Linked DNA regions of Homo sapiens: all the other regions are linked to region 2. The links are contacts of gene promoters, found by promoter capture Hi-C in human tissues and cell types (Jung and others, 2019). All regions are on one chromosome and are shown on one strand. Each heading gives the region's core, a stretch centred on a gene start or on the middle of the fragment in contact. The rest is flanking DNA. Distances are from core to core; before and after follow the strand shown.

Evidence for each region. The method cuts DNA at HindIII sites, captures the fragments that hold promoters and counts their contacts. A contact is called where the count stands out against the background at its distance.
Region 1: a contact is called between a fragment that was not itself captured here and the fragment with the promoter of PAX1 in region 2, in 1 of the 25 tissues and cell types used here (hippocampus).
Region 3: a contact is called between a fragment that was not itself captured here and the fragment with the promoter of PAX1 in region 2, in 3 of the 25 tissues and cell types used here (aorta, dorsolateral prefrontal cortex and stomach).
Region 4: a fragment that was not itself captured here is called in contact with the fragment with the promoter of PAX1 in region 2 in 1 of the 25 tissues and cell types used here (stomach).
Region 5: a fragment that was not itself captured here is called in contact with the fragment with the promoter of PAX1 in region 2 in 2 of the 25 tissues and cell types used here (lymphoblastoid cells and spleen).

The regions. Positions count from the first base shown.
Region 1 is chr20:22,085,286-22,087,985 of GRCh38, forward strand. No RefSeq gene overlaps it. Among named protein-coding and RNA genes, the nearest start is that of LINC01432, 33 kb to the left of the region's middle. The HindIII fragment of the contact is 3,134 bases long and covers 1-2,700 here.
Region 2 is chr20:21,704,338-21,707,037 of GRCh38, forward strand. It overlaps PAX1 (paired box 1), which reads left to right and starts at 1,327. Exons shown (of 5, transcript NM_001257096.2): 1 at 1,327-1,661; 2 at 2,101-2,700. The coding sequence starts at 1,376. The HindIII fragment of the contact is 9,805 bases long and covers 1-2,700 here.
Region 3 is chr20:22,124,206-22,126,905 of GRCh38, forward strand. No RefSeq gene overlaps it. Among named protein-coding and RNA genes, the nearest start is that of LINC01432, 71 kb to the left of the region's middle. The HindIII fragment of the contact is 5,203 bases long and covers 1-2,700 here.
Region 4 is chr20:21,219,643-21,222,342 of GRCh38, forward strand. All of the region lies in intron 9 of KIZ (kizuna centrosomal protein), which reads left to right. Among named protein-coding and RNA genes, the nearest start is that of KIZ-AS1, 2.7 kb to the left of the region's middle. The HindIII fragment of the contact is 4,951 bases long and covers 1-2,700 here.
Region 5 is chr20:22,026,812-22,029,565 of GRCh38, forward strand. No RefSeq gene overlaps it. Among named protein-coding and RNA genes, the nearest start is that of LINC01432, 26 kb to the right of the region's middle. The HindIII fragment of the contact is 4,150 bases long and covers 1-2,754 here.

The sequences.
Region 1 (2,700 bases), core at 42-2,541, 380 kb after region 2:
CTAGTGAAGTCTGAAACTAATTTAGGGTTAAACGAAAAAAGCTTCAAAAAAGGCCAAGAACAAGTATAAGCAGCCATGGGCACAGTGGAGCCAGGTTAGAAGGGAGTCCTAAATTTCAGGACAATAATTAGGAACAACCATTTGTCTTCTAGAGATGTTTTGGGAAACCAAGGTCCTATAGCAGAAAAATTTCTTAGGATTCAGATAAAATCCTGAGTCATCTAGGAACAGAATACTCACACCAGCTTTTCTTATAAAAATGAACACTCCTTCCCTATTGCACTCCCACAGCCTCATGCCCATATCAACAGTTGTCCCAAGTAGGCCTGTGTCAGCTCAGTTCTTGGGTTCTGGTTGTAGGGCTCCCTGAGTCAAATTATAACTCAGTGGGCTTTACTGATTATTGACTCTCCACAATTTGTGGCCTCAGGTGAGGCCTAACTTGAACTAGAGTCACCACCAGCATATTTTTTAAACAGTCCAAGAAGAGGCTAAAAGCTACAGTATGAGGTGACAAATGGAGGTCTTCTTTAATGACCTTCTAGAGTTTCATTTAACTAGGGGATTTCTCAGTCAGTGGCATGAGATCAGAGAGATTTTTGAAGACAAAGTGTAATTAATAGAGTGGGCCATGGACATAAGAGAGAAAGCAACTTCCCAATTTTGTATACTGTGCACTATTTCTGCATATTTATGATGCTTAAGTTAGAGTGCTGAGTGTCAAATTCATATGTAAAAATTTAAACCACATGACCTGTGAATTGGCAAGTTTTTGAAAGAATTCTGTTTAATGTATTTGAATCTCATATATACTTCAGTTTGAAACTCCTGTTGAGTGTTTATTAGTTCTGTTCAGTAAAGTGTTACATGAAGATAAATATTAATTTTCCCTGCAAAAAAGTAGCAAAATATAAACTGTAGATCAAATACTGGCCAATTTGTCAAAAACATTTTTGTGTAAAAGAACATTAAAGCTTAATAGATGAATTGAACAATATAATTGGTTGAATAGTTTCCTTCAAAATAACATAAACACATATGTTGGTAGGAATCACATGAATAACCAAGTATCACATAAAAGCCTTTATAAGATGGGCAAGGTTATGCTATAAATAGTTTAAGATGAGTTTTCCTTTGACGACTCTGTTTTGTTATCTGGTATTAAATAGTTTTTATTCTGTAACTTTGGGTCTGCTCCCTATTACCAAATATTTATTGTGTTTTCACTTAAAGTAAACTTGACTTTAAAAAGAAATCATAAGAAAAAAATTTTGTTTTTGTTGGTTTCTTTTTGTAAATGAATATTTACCCAAATCATAGATTCTCTCTTTGAACTACAGAGGCTTCAAATGGGAGAAATCCTCCAAGCCATGGCATATTTTTATGGTGTAACTACTCACTCAAATGTCTTTCCAAAGTATGTATTATAATAATCATTCACAAATAAATGAATAAATAAACACAAATGCATGCTCATGTAACATGTGTGTATATATTTTGTCCAAGTGTGTGGGACATCTTTTTAAAAAGATTCATGGTTGACTAAGAATGCCCACTTTTTTAGAGCAACTAAAGTTGTAGGCATTTTCTGAGATATAATTTGATTGTCTGACATTCATGATTGCTTCTTTGATGTATTAAATTTGGTTATTTATCTGAAAAATTTAAAAAGACAATAGAATGCTATTCATGAGATGCTCTAATTATGACACATTTACTGAAATGTTTATTAAGCTTATTAAACTAAAATAATTACTGATTACTGTAATACAGCCCACACTAAAATTTTATGTTTCCTTTAACTCAGCAAATAATTTCTAGAATATTATCCCATGAATACTTGTAGAACTTTGATGGTAACACTGTTTATCTCATCCCTAATTATGGAAGCAAAGGGTGAAAATATAAAGGTCCAAAAATAGAGAATTAGTTAGATATTATGTGATAAAAGATAATATTCACAATGCCATATTAAGTAAAAAGTTGGTCGTATGTGCATCAAATAACCAAAAGTAGGTTATTTGCAATTCTTGGAATTGATGTATTCAACGTTCATCTAAATCCCAAATGTAACGAATTGCACCTGCATGTCTGTGTGGATATATATGTATACATATATATGGGTAATTATGTGCATTATATACTTATATATTTAAAAGTAGTATTTATTGTTAATATTGTAAATATTCCCTAACAAAAATGCAAATATTGCTAATAATGTGAAAATCCATGAATACTTCTGGTAGCACACAGAAAACAAGAAAATGAATGGTTGGCACCACTGGAAAATGATGTTTTGTTACCCAAGGACTTGCTGTCATTATGTTTTCTGAGAGAAAATTAATTTTTGTCTTGTACTTACTTATTTTGACTAAATGCTTCCACTGCTTAAAACTCTCTGTGTTCTGAAGCCATGTCTATCTCTAACGTTGACAGAAGCACAGCATGCAGATCTTCATTGCCTTTCCATGCAGTCACCCTTTGCTTTGAAGACATAAGGCAAAAAATGGAGAGAAGCATTTACCTGGGGCCTCAACTACATTAGTCCTAAGGTGGCTGCTTAGGGTCATGTTCTGATTAAGGTGCCCTATATTTATTAACTTGGGCTTTTTTTGGTGTGATATTTGGGGCGTATACTTTAAAGTATACGCATATGGCAGAAGTCTCTTTTGCCCAGGCAGAAGGGTATGCTGTTTATAT
Region 2 (2,700 bases), core at 77-2,576:
CCTCCAGGGGAGCGCTGGGAGTCTCAGAAACCTCGGCTGTTCCTACTCTCTCCCCTATGCCCTCTTCCTGGTCTAGCACATTCAGCCCAATGCCTTTGGTGCTTACTGGGCTCAACCTCAGAGCTCTCAGATCCTGACCCCCTCAAATCAGTTCATGTTCAAAACCACGAGTTTCCTCCTCTTGGCCCTCACCGCATGGCTCCCGGACACAGTTAGCTGCACAGGTTGGGGAGTTCAGAACTGCTTTGGTGCAGGGTAGAAACAGAGAAATTGTTGATGTTCAATCTCAGGGGTGAATAATTCAGGGCTGCGCAAAACCTCATTTAAATGAAGGAGAAATGACCATTCTGTGGTTTAACAGAGACTTCCTGAAGCTGCAGGTGCTGGGAGAAAGACGAGGCCAGGCCACCTGGGATAGAGTGGTGCGAGATTCCACCGCCAGGGAGAAAGGAACTTGTCCTTCAGACCTAGAGCTGGAGCTATGCATTTGGCCTCCCGCCGGTCGCGCTTGGGGACAGGAGGGCGCCGGATCTATGCGCCCCTTAGCAGCAGATCGGGATCCTTTTGCCTCCTGCCCCTTCTGTCACTGCTTGGAGAGGGATGAGTTCTGGTGGCTGGGCCTGGCTGTAGGAGACAGGATTTGGACCGTGCCCCTCTCGCATCACCGAAATCACCCCCACTATTCCAAGAGTGGTTGGCTATTAAACGTGAAGATTTCCTGAGAGAAGGATTGAGGACCTGGCCAGGAATGGGACACAAGTTCCGCCTTGTGTCTTCCTGACAGGAGCCCTGCACCGCGCTGGACGCTCACCTTGACACTCCCAGCCAGCTGGGGTACTGATCCCACCCTTCCCCGGCCGCTGCCCCGGGAGTGGGGAGGTAGAGAGAGCCACACCCGAAACACCTTTCCACGATAAACTTTTATTCTCTATCTTATTATTAATGGTGGCGGAAATAAAACTAAAACCAAAACGAAAACGAGTACTAGTACTAACACACTAATCAATTTGAGATGACTTCCCCCTCATTCCCAAAGCTAGAGGAGGAAGGGGGCTGAAAGGGGCTCAGAGCAGTGGAAGGTCCCAGGCCCAGCTGGGGTTGGGACGTGTGTGTGTGTGTGTGTGTGTGTGTGTGTGTGTGTGTGTGTGTAGAGGGGTGGGTTCCGGGGGGGTGGTGGAAGAGGGCCGAGGGGGGAGGATAGAAGGAGGGGGTAGAGTTTCAGGGCGGGGAGGGGGGCGCTGGGGCGCAGTGACGGGAACCAATGAGCTGCCAACTCGCGCGTCTCCGGCGTGACTGCCGAGATTGACGTGGAGGACACGTCAAATTGATTCCCGCACGCTGCAGCCTCCCGGTCAGACGAATTTCTCCCAATCGGATGAAGTTCACCCTGGGCCTGGGGTCGCGGGCGTGGAGAGTGTCCTGGGAGGGGGCAGCAGCGGCGGCGGCAGGCCCTGGAGCGGGCGGCAGCGCGCTCCGCTGCCGCGCACAGCGCGTCTCCAGCCCGCGGCTGGGCCGCCGCGGCTCTCGGCTCTCGGGCGCCCTCCCTCTATGCCTCTCACGCGGCGGCGGCGGCGCCCAAGCTCTCCCGGACTGCGCCGGGCCCAGCCCCGGCCACCCCGGCCACCCCGGCGCCAGGCAGCTGGCCGGCCCGCTCGCTATGGGTAAGGGGCGGGCGACAGGCAGGGCTCGGGAGGGCTGATGAGGTGGGTCGGGTCCGCCTGCCTCCCTTCCCTCTCGTCCGCTTTCCCTGGGCGACCCAGTCCTGGGTCCTGGAGAAGCTGCATTCTCCTCTGATCCCCAGCCTTCAGGGGGCAGTTGAGCAAGTCTGGGAAGGGAGTGTTCCAAGTAGACGCGCTAAAAGTCGCGAAAGGGCACGGAGGGCTACAATGCGCCGCGCTCCACTCCGCGGCTCCTCTGCGCCCTTGCCCACTCCAAGCCAGACCCAGGCGGTTTGCCCTTGGACTCCGAGCTGTCTGGGGACCCACAGGTCACCTTTGGAAGTGCGCCTGGGTGCAGTCCCTCGCTCCGCGTGGGGACCCTTGGCTAACCCGCCGGGTGTTTTCTCCCCCTCCGGCTCACTCTTGTCTGGCGCATCCGCAGAGCAGACGTATGGCGAGGTGAACCAGCTGGGCGGTGTGTTCGTCAACGGCCGCCCCCTGCCCAACGCCATCCGCTTGCGCATTGTGGAGCTGGCGCAGCTGGGCATCCGACCCTGTGACATCAGTCGGCAGCTCCGCGTATCCCACGGCTGCGTGAGCAAGATCCTGGCGCGCTACAACGAGACCGGCTCCATTCTGCCCGGGGCCATCGGGGGGAGCAAGCCCCGCGTCACCACTCCCAACGTGGTCAAGCACATCCGGGACTACAAGCAAGGAGACCCTGGCATCTTTGCCTGGGAGATCCGCGACCGGCTGCTGGCCGACGGCGTCTGTGACAAGTACAATGTGCCTTCGGTGAGCTCCATCAGCCGCATCCTGCGCAACAAGATCGGCAGCCTGGCGCAGCCCGGACCGTACGAGGCAAGTAAGCAGCCGCCGTCGCAGCCTACGCTGCCCTACAACCACATCTACCAGTACCCCTACCCCAGTCCCGTGTCGCCCACGGGCGCCAAGATGGGCAGCCACCCCGGGGTCCCGGGCACGGCGGGCCACGTCAGCATCCCGCGCTCATGGCCCTCGGCACACTCGGTCAGCAACATCC
Region 3 (2,700 bases), core at 36-2,535, 420 kb after region 2:
AGATTGCTACCCTAATGAAATTTATGTTTAATTAGTGCAGACAGACAATAAAGAAAATTGTGTGTGTTTGTGGTGGGGGCGGGGGTTAGATGGAAGTCATAAATGTTATGAAAGAAAAATAAAAGAAATGGGATACAAGGATAAGGAGAAGACTTAGGTAAGTTGTACTTTAAAATAAAGTGGTCAGACATACATCACTTCAAAATGAACATTTGCATAAAAGTATAAAGAGTTTGAGGGAGTAAGATGCATGGATTCTGGAGACAACATGTGAACATGTCCTGCAGAGTCATCATAGTTGGCATGCTGGAGGAACAAGAAAAAGGTCCATGAGGGTGGGGTAGAGTAAAATGAGCAAAGGAGAAAGTATTGTGCAAAAAGGTCAAGATAACAGGGACAGAGAGACGTGATAGGGACATGGGCATATTGTATGCTGAGTGGGGGAAAAAACCCCAGGAGCGTTTTTGTTCTGCTTTGTTTAGCTATCTTAAAATGTAAGCAATTTTTAGAATAGTCTTAGATTTATAGCAGTGTTGCAAATCTACCGTAGAGAGTTCCCATATAATGTTCACCCAGTTTCTTTTGTTGTTAACATTTTATGTTACAATGATAAATTTGTCAAAAGTAATGAAACAACATCAGTGTATTATTATTAAATAAACTCCACAATTAATTCAAATGTTACTAGTTTTTCCCATGTCCTTTTTATGTTCCAGTATTCCATCCAAGATACCACATTGCATTGAGTTTTCATGTGTTCTTAGTCTCCTCTGAACTTTGATAGTTTCTCAGATTTTCACTGATTTTAATGACCTTGTCAGTTCTCATGTATACTGGTCAGAATATCGTATATCCTACTATTTGGGTTTCTCTGATATTTTTCTCATGTTTAGATGGGCTTTGCGGAGAGAATATTCACCACAAAATACATAAAATTAGAACACAAATATAATAGTCAAAACACCCTTGAGAAATTATAAGACTCATTTCTTCAAAAATTATTAAACAGTAAATCTAAGGAAATGTTATAAAATATTTAAAACAGACTGCTGTATATTAGAACCAATAGTATGCACCCTTAAGCTGTAATTAAGGGACAAATTTATGATTAATTAACTAATATTCAAATCCAAAAGGTGAAAAAAAGGAACAATACAAAATCTAAACCAAATAGAAAGAAGGAAATAAAAATAAAAGACAAAAGTAATTAAGTGGCAAATAAAAAGTAGAGTGGATCGTTAAGACTAAACACTATTTTTAAAGACCAGTATAACAGACAAATGTTTTGATGGTGAAAGAGAGTGAGAGTGAGAGAGAGAAAGTGAGTGAGAAATAATATAAACAAACAATATCAGGAAAAAATAATGGAGCACAAACATATAATGAAGTATTTTAGAAACTATGAATTGATATGAACAACTGTATGCCAGTAGGTTAAAAGCCCATGCAATGGACAATTTTCTAGGAAAGTGTAAATGCCATGATTAGTCTTCACAACCATAAAACAAGTATTAATACAAATTGAAATGGTAATCAGTATCTTATTCCCAAAGGCATCAGACCCACATGGTTTTTCCAGTAACTTTCAGCACCAATTCAATAAACATATATGTCTCATTATAGCTTAACTGAAAAAAAGTGAAGCCACGCAAGTCATTTTATAAGGATTGAATAATACTGTTAGGAAAACTAGAAAAGGAAAACACAAAGATGCACTTCTTTGTTTCAAAACTATAAATACAACAAAAATTATTTCATTGTTGGTTTCACTTCAGGGAAATGCTGATTCATCTTTGTGTGTAATACAAATTCAATTTGTGGTTAATAAAGGTTAATAAAGGGGACTATAATTTTAAAAGCACAATAAGCCAATATAATATTCCCAATTTACTTCTTCAACACTTGGCCTGCAGTTATAACTATTTAAAAAGTGAACATTAAGGCAAAGATTTCTTTCTACATGTTGGAGGAGCATTGAAGAAGAAATAAACATTTCCTCATTTTTGCTTAGTAAGCACATTGAGACACCAAGGTGGGTGGATCACCTGAGGTCAGGAGTTCGAGACCAGCCTGGCCAACATGGCAAAATGCCGTCTCTACTAAAAGTACAAAAATTAGCCAGGCGTGGTGGTGCATGCCTGTAATCCCAGCTACTCAGGAGGCTGAGGCAGGAGAATTGCTTGAACCTGGGAGGCGGAGTTTGCAGTGAGCTGAGATTGCACCACTGCACTCCAGCCTGGGCAACAAGAGTGAGACTCTGTCTCAAAAAAAAAAAAAAAAAAGCAAGGTAAATCTTATTATTTTCCTTCCTTCAACTGGCTATGAACTTGTTTTAATTTATTACCACTGATTTGAAACAACCTTATCATAAAAGTTCCCAGTTGTACCTGCATCTATTTATTCACTCTTTTCTATGGATAGGACCATCTGTTCTGATCATTACACACACTTATCAATTATGAATCCTTTCAGATGACTACAATGCCATTTTCTTTCCCTCACAAAACAAGAAGTCAAAACATAAATGGTTGCTGATGCTCTTTCTTTAGTTTATTTCTGTAAAAAATAAATTCTCTGAGATTCTTATGATGTTTTCAATATGGCAATAAGCTGGCCATTATGCCCTTGTTCAAGGCAAGAAGAGAGAGAGAGGGCAAGAGCACTCTCTGCATGCTCCCACAGCTGACCCCTGCAGCTGAG
Region 4 (2,700 bases), core at 71-2,570, 480 kb before region 2:
GGAAGGAATTATTGCTTCTGTGACCCCTGACATTCCTTCTAATGCCAAGGGACTGTGCTTCTTCCTCTATGCTAATGGAATCCAGTGTGCCAGCATTCTCATCTCTTCATTTCCCTTTCTCATTTGCTTATCACCACAAAACGGAGGTCTTCTTGGCTGGGGCTCCTCCTTAAAGAGTCTGCTATCACTTTGAAGGCATCTGCTTTGCTAATCGTTATTATGGAGCATGCGAGTTTTCTGTGTTTAGATTTACATAGAAACCCTCCTGGGCACACACTGATGCCCCACCCACAAACACAGAGTCAGTATTCCATAGCCTGTATGATCTGTTGTTGTGAATATAATCTACCCCTTTTATTAGTCTAGTTGTTGTTCACTAAAGAATCCAGGTGGAAATCAAAGATGAATTTTTATATCTATAAATGTATGGTTTTCTGTATATAATAAGTAGTATATAATTAGATGTATTGATACAATATATATTAGTTATATATTATATATCATATATCATTATAGATGATTATATATAAAATCCTTAATTATATTAGTTAATAAAATTAATATTTTTACGTGGGCTGAATCCTGGGATACCAGAAACCACAAAAGATGGTATCCCTGCCCTCACTAAGCCTCCCTCATCTCTAACCTTTACAACAGTCCTATAGGGTAAACATTAGTACTCACCCTACAAGTGGTCAGACAGAAACTTAGAAAGGTATCCTGCTCAAGGCCATGTAGCTGGTGTGTTTGATCTTGAATTGAACTCAGACTTTAGGATTTGGGCTCTTGAACTCCTTCCATTTCACTGCCCTGCCTCTTTTATTTATTTTGTTTTTTTATTATTTATTTATTTATTTTTGAGACAGAGTCTCACTCCATCACCCAGGCTGGAGTGCGGTGGCACGATCTTGGCTCAGTGCAACCTCTGCCTCCCGGGTTCAAGCGATTCTCGTGCCACAGCCTCCTGAGTAGCTGGGATTACAGGCATGTTCCACCAAGCCTGGCTAATTTTGTATTCTTAATAGAGACGGTTTTGCCCCGTTTGCCAGGCTGTACTCGCATCCTGGCCTAAAGATACCCACCCACCTTGGCCTCCCAAAGTGCTGGGATTACAGGCGTGAGCCGCCACGCCCGGCCTACCCTGCCTTTTTTATTTTACCAAAAAGACAACTGCATCAGGATGTCCGGATCAATTAAACATCAGTGTACATCATAACAGAAGATGGGCTTTGCAAGGCTGCTTCTGAGAGCAATGATAAACAAAGCTTGCCTTTCCTTTCTCTTGGGTTAGGCCTGGAGAGGTGGGCAGCATGCAAGGATTTTCAAATGCAGCTCATCCCGAGAGGCAGGCCTTTTATAAAGTGGGGCAAACCTGAGCCCAGCTGGGCTGCTGGGAGGTCGGTTTCCCTGAAACACTTCCTGACCTACTATGTAGGTCAGTTTGCCTGAAACACTCAGGCCATGAGGAAAGTGATGCTTATCTAGATTGGGAGAGAAAGTCTGCCTTTTGAACTACTTACATCCGCAAAGTGAAAATTTCCCACATTGACAATTTTATTTGTATTCACACTAAATTTACCTTTCAGCATTAAGTGAGTTTTAGCTTTAGCAGATGATGCAGCTATGCTAAATGTCATAAAAATACAGCACCTAGCACAGTATCTGGCACAGAGTGGGCACTTAATTTGTCAAATGAATAAAAATGGGGATATTAAGGAATTTTCTTAAATGCTTGATGATTCAGGATAGAATACTATCTCTTTCAGTCATGCACTCCACCAATACTTTTCCCACCCCACGTGCCCATCCTGGCAAAACTAGTCTCCTTAAGCTCCATGTGAAAAGGGCTCTCAGCTTTTATCTCAAGAGGATTAAGCCTCTAAGAATGTCCATTCAGACTCTCATTCTTTTGACACCAATTCTCTTGGTCAAGCTGTGTTGAAAGTGGTTGCCTGACTGTGCCATTCCTCGTGGATATTCTTTGGCAAGCTGAAATATGCAGGGTAATACTAAGACATCCATTTAGAGTCTTTCCAGGAGGTCAGTATAGATTTGGAGGGTGCCACTTGGAGTTCTAGGCAGTGCTTCCCAAAACATGATTGCTTGAGTTTTACATCAATTTGGAAAAGGGCTGGAAAGATATAGTGGCTAGGTTGTCACTGGTGACTGGATTTATCCTGGGAGGAAAGACTGTAGTGATGACTTTGGGCTCCCAAAGCACAGTGGCATAACACCACTAGTACTGAGGTTTTACCGAGAATGTGCTTCACCTGTCCTATCCCAAAGCATTTTCCTGACAAGACTCAGTCAAGACATATTACCTGTTGTGCCTGGAACGGGAAACCCCCAGCTTGTGCAAAACCAGGGGAACCACTGTGTGTTGCTGGATTGTCCATTGAAAGTCCACGTGGCCCTGTCTCTGTGCCAGGGGTCAGCCTGCTGGGGCTTCACCCATGGAGCCTGCTGCCTGCTACTTGCGGTAGCAAAACAGTCCTCATTATATTGCAGGGCAGTGCTGTTTATTTAACATGGTCATTAAAGGATAAAAGGTACTTTTCTGAAGGGTCTTCTGGACTGGATGCTTCTATATTCAGAGAGATGAACTCATAAATGCCAAGAGAAATTCTCCCCAGCGGTTCATGGTAGAATCCCATGTAGAGTTTTAGAACATACCCATGCCCCAGCCACACCCTTGTGCAA
Region 5 (2,754 bases), core at 124-2,623, 320 kb after region 2:
GTGCGCCTGCCAACAGCACCAAGTTTATTTCCAGGCAGTGGGTAAGCAGTGCTGAGAACTTGCCCCGGGCTACCAGCCTCCCAGCTGAGAGAGCAGGCAAGGCTTTTGCGCTTCCCTGCCTGTTGAGTCTGCCCACAAGATTCACGCCATCCACTGAGTTCTGGTCAGGAAGCTTCATGTTTGGTTGGAATTATTACCAAGTTTGTCTAGAGGTTTCCTTCTCCCTGTGGTCTTTTCCAAGTTCCCCTGGTAGCCCTCCCCAAGGACGCCTATGAGACAAGTCAGAAATGGCTTCCCTGGGGACCCAGAAATCCCACGGGGCTTTTCCTGCTGCTTCCTCTACCCTGTATTTTGCTCAGCTCTCTAAATTGTCTCAGCTCCAGGTAAGGTCAAATCCTTCGCCTGTGATCTGGCCTTTCAGGTTTCCCAGTGAGGGTGTGTGTTTGGGGGTGGACAATCTCCCTTTCCCACTTTCACAGTTTGGGAACTCACAGTATTTGGGCTGTCTCTCAGGTCCTGCAGAAGTAATCTGCTTTCTTCAAAGGGTTTGTGGATTTTCTTGGCTTTCCTGGTATATTCCTGCAGTAGTTCTTGGAGCAAAACTTCATGATGTGAGTCTCCACACTCTGCTCTGCAATTTAGGGAGCTGCAATTTAGTCCTGCCTCCTATCCACCATATTTTCCTCTGCTGTCCAAGAATGTGAATTTTACCACTTTCAATGCCCCATCAATTTTGTCTGACTAGTGTTTGACTGATAGCTGCATAAATTTCATCCTGTCTCCACGACACCAACAGAAAAATGGTGGTGAAAACTGCAGAGTAGACAAAAACAAAAACAAAACAAAAAACTATTATAAAGCCATTAAATCATCTTTAAAGCTTGCAGTAGTTTTACTCCTGTAGATTTTTCTAATACCAAAAAGACTACATGCTTATTTCTTTGTTGGGTTGTTGCTTTGACACTTCTGGTAGCTTATTAGGTGGGGATGGAAGATAGTCAAAGGTCAAGACCACAGTGTTGACACTCATGAAGGCTGGTGAGCAATGCTCTGTGGCTGGGTCAGTCAAATAGTGCAGCAAACAGAGAAAACCAGGTTAACCCTGGGGCCATGATACCAGAGGTCCATCAGTGAAATTTTTAAATAGAATTTTTAAAGGAAAAGTGCACAAATCACTAGTTTACAGCTCAATGCATTTTCACAAGTCGAATAGTCGAATACTCTTGCATAACCCGCACCTAAATTAAGAGACAGAATCTCATCAGCCCCCAGAAGCACCATCACCTCTGCCGTCTTCCAGACAGAGCCCTCCAAATAGTAACCACTATCTTGACTTCTAATATGTGGATTAGCTTTGCTATTTATACAGTATATATCCTTCGTATAAGGCTCTTGTTACGCAACAGGTTGTGAATTTCATCCACTTTGTTGTAGGTAGTTGGAGTTCATTCATGCTCATAGCCGTATAGTATTCAATTTTATTACTATAGCACAATATCTTTATTTATTTTACTATTGATCAACTTTTGGGTATTTTCTAGTTTGCAGTCATTTCAAATAATCCTGAAATAAGTCCTCTTATGTTTTTTTTTTTTGTTGGAACATACATATTTTGTTCTGCTGAGATATAGGGTACGTGTATGTTTTGCTTTAACTAATACTGACAAATAGTTTAGTTTTTCAAAATGTTTTGGATCCATTTTTACTCCCACATTTGGCAAATAATTTATTCATGAACAATGCAAATGAAAATTTTTTCTCAGTTGAGCTGTTGTGAAATTATTACACAAAACATTTTGAAGGTTATCAATTGTAATGTGAGAGCCAAAACCACGTGTGTGCAGGCCCATCTTTCTGGTTGGGGATTATACTATTTGATATAAATCACCTCAAGAAATAGCCGTAGATGAGAGAAATAAACATTTTAATTGTTCTTATAATGAATGATAAGTGAAGGGAACTATAACCTCAATTGCAAATGTTAACATTTACAAGATGACCTGTTTATAAATGTAGCTCTGCCTTATACATGTGCTCACATCCATTTTGAAGTATCCAACCAGAGCGCTGATAGATTAGTAGTTTTGTGAGCTCTAGCTGACAATCCCTGAGCAAATCTGGTGAATTTATCAGCAGCCTTGCAGGACAGAAAGAAGGAAAAAAGATAACAGATGACTGTGCTAAACAGACGTAATACATACCAAGGGTGGTAGTCTCTTGGGCAGACATCTTTGTGATTACTTACCATGTCCACTTCCATCACAAAGTTCTGTCATCCAGATATAGTTGGAAACAACCTCCTCTGTGGCTATAGAGTAGCTGTACTTCTCTTGTGTATAATTAAGTGGTGGTTGATAACAGTAACATTACATTTATTGGGTGCTTACCAGGTACCTGGCTTGTGCTAAGTGCCTTACCTATGTGTGCTTAGGAACTAGCATTATCCTCATTGTGCAGCGAAGCAAGTAGTGGGCTAATAGTGAAGTTCAGCAAATTTTCTGAAGATCCTGCAGCCATTTAAAAGAAAGATGAGACCAGAAACGAGGCCAGTGTAACTCCATTGTTCAAGTTTTACGGCCACAGACTCTATGTGGATGCAGGAGGGCTTGGGGGTAGACTGAGAGGTGGGAGGGAGGAGTGCAGCCTGGACATTATTTCAGAAAGCAAGCTAACATTAAAAGGTTAAAAACAAAATTTTGATTGAGTATATTATGAAATGGAAAAACTTTTGGGATTCTTAAAGTTTGACAAAGC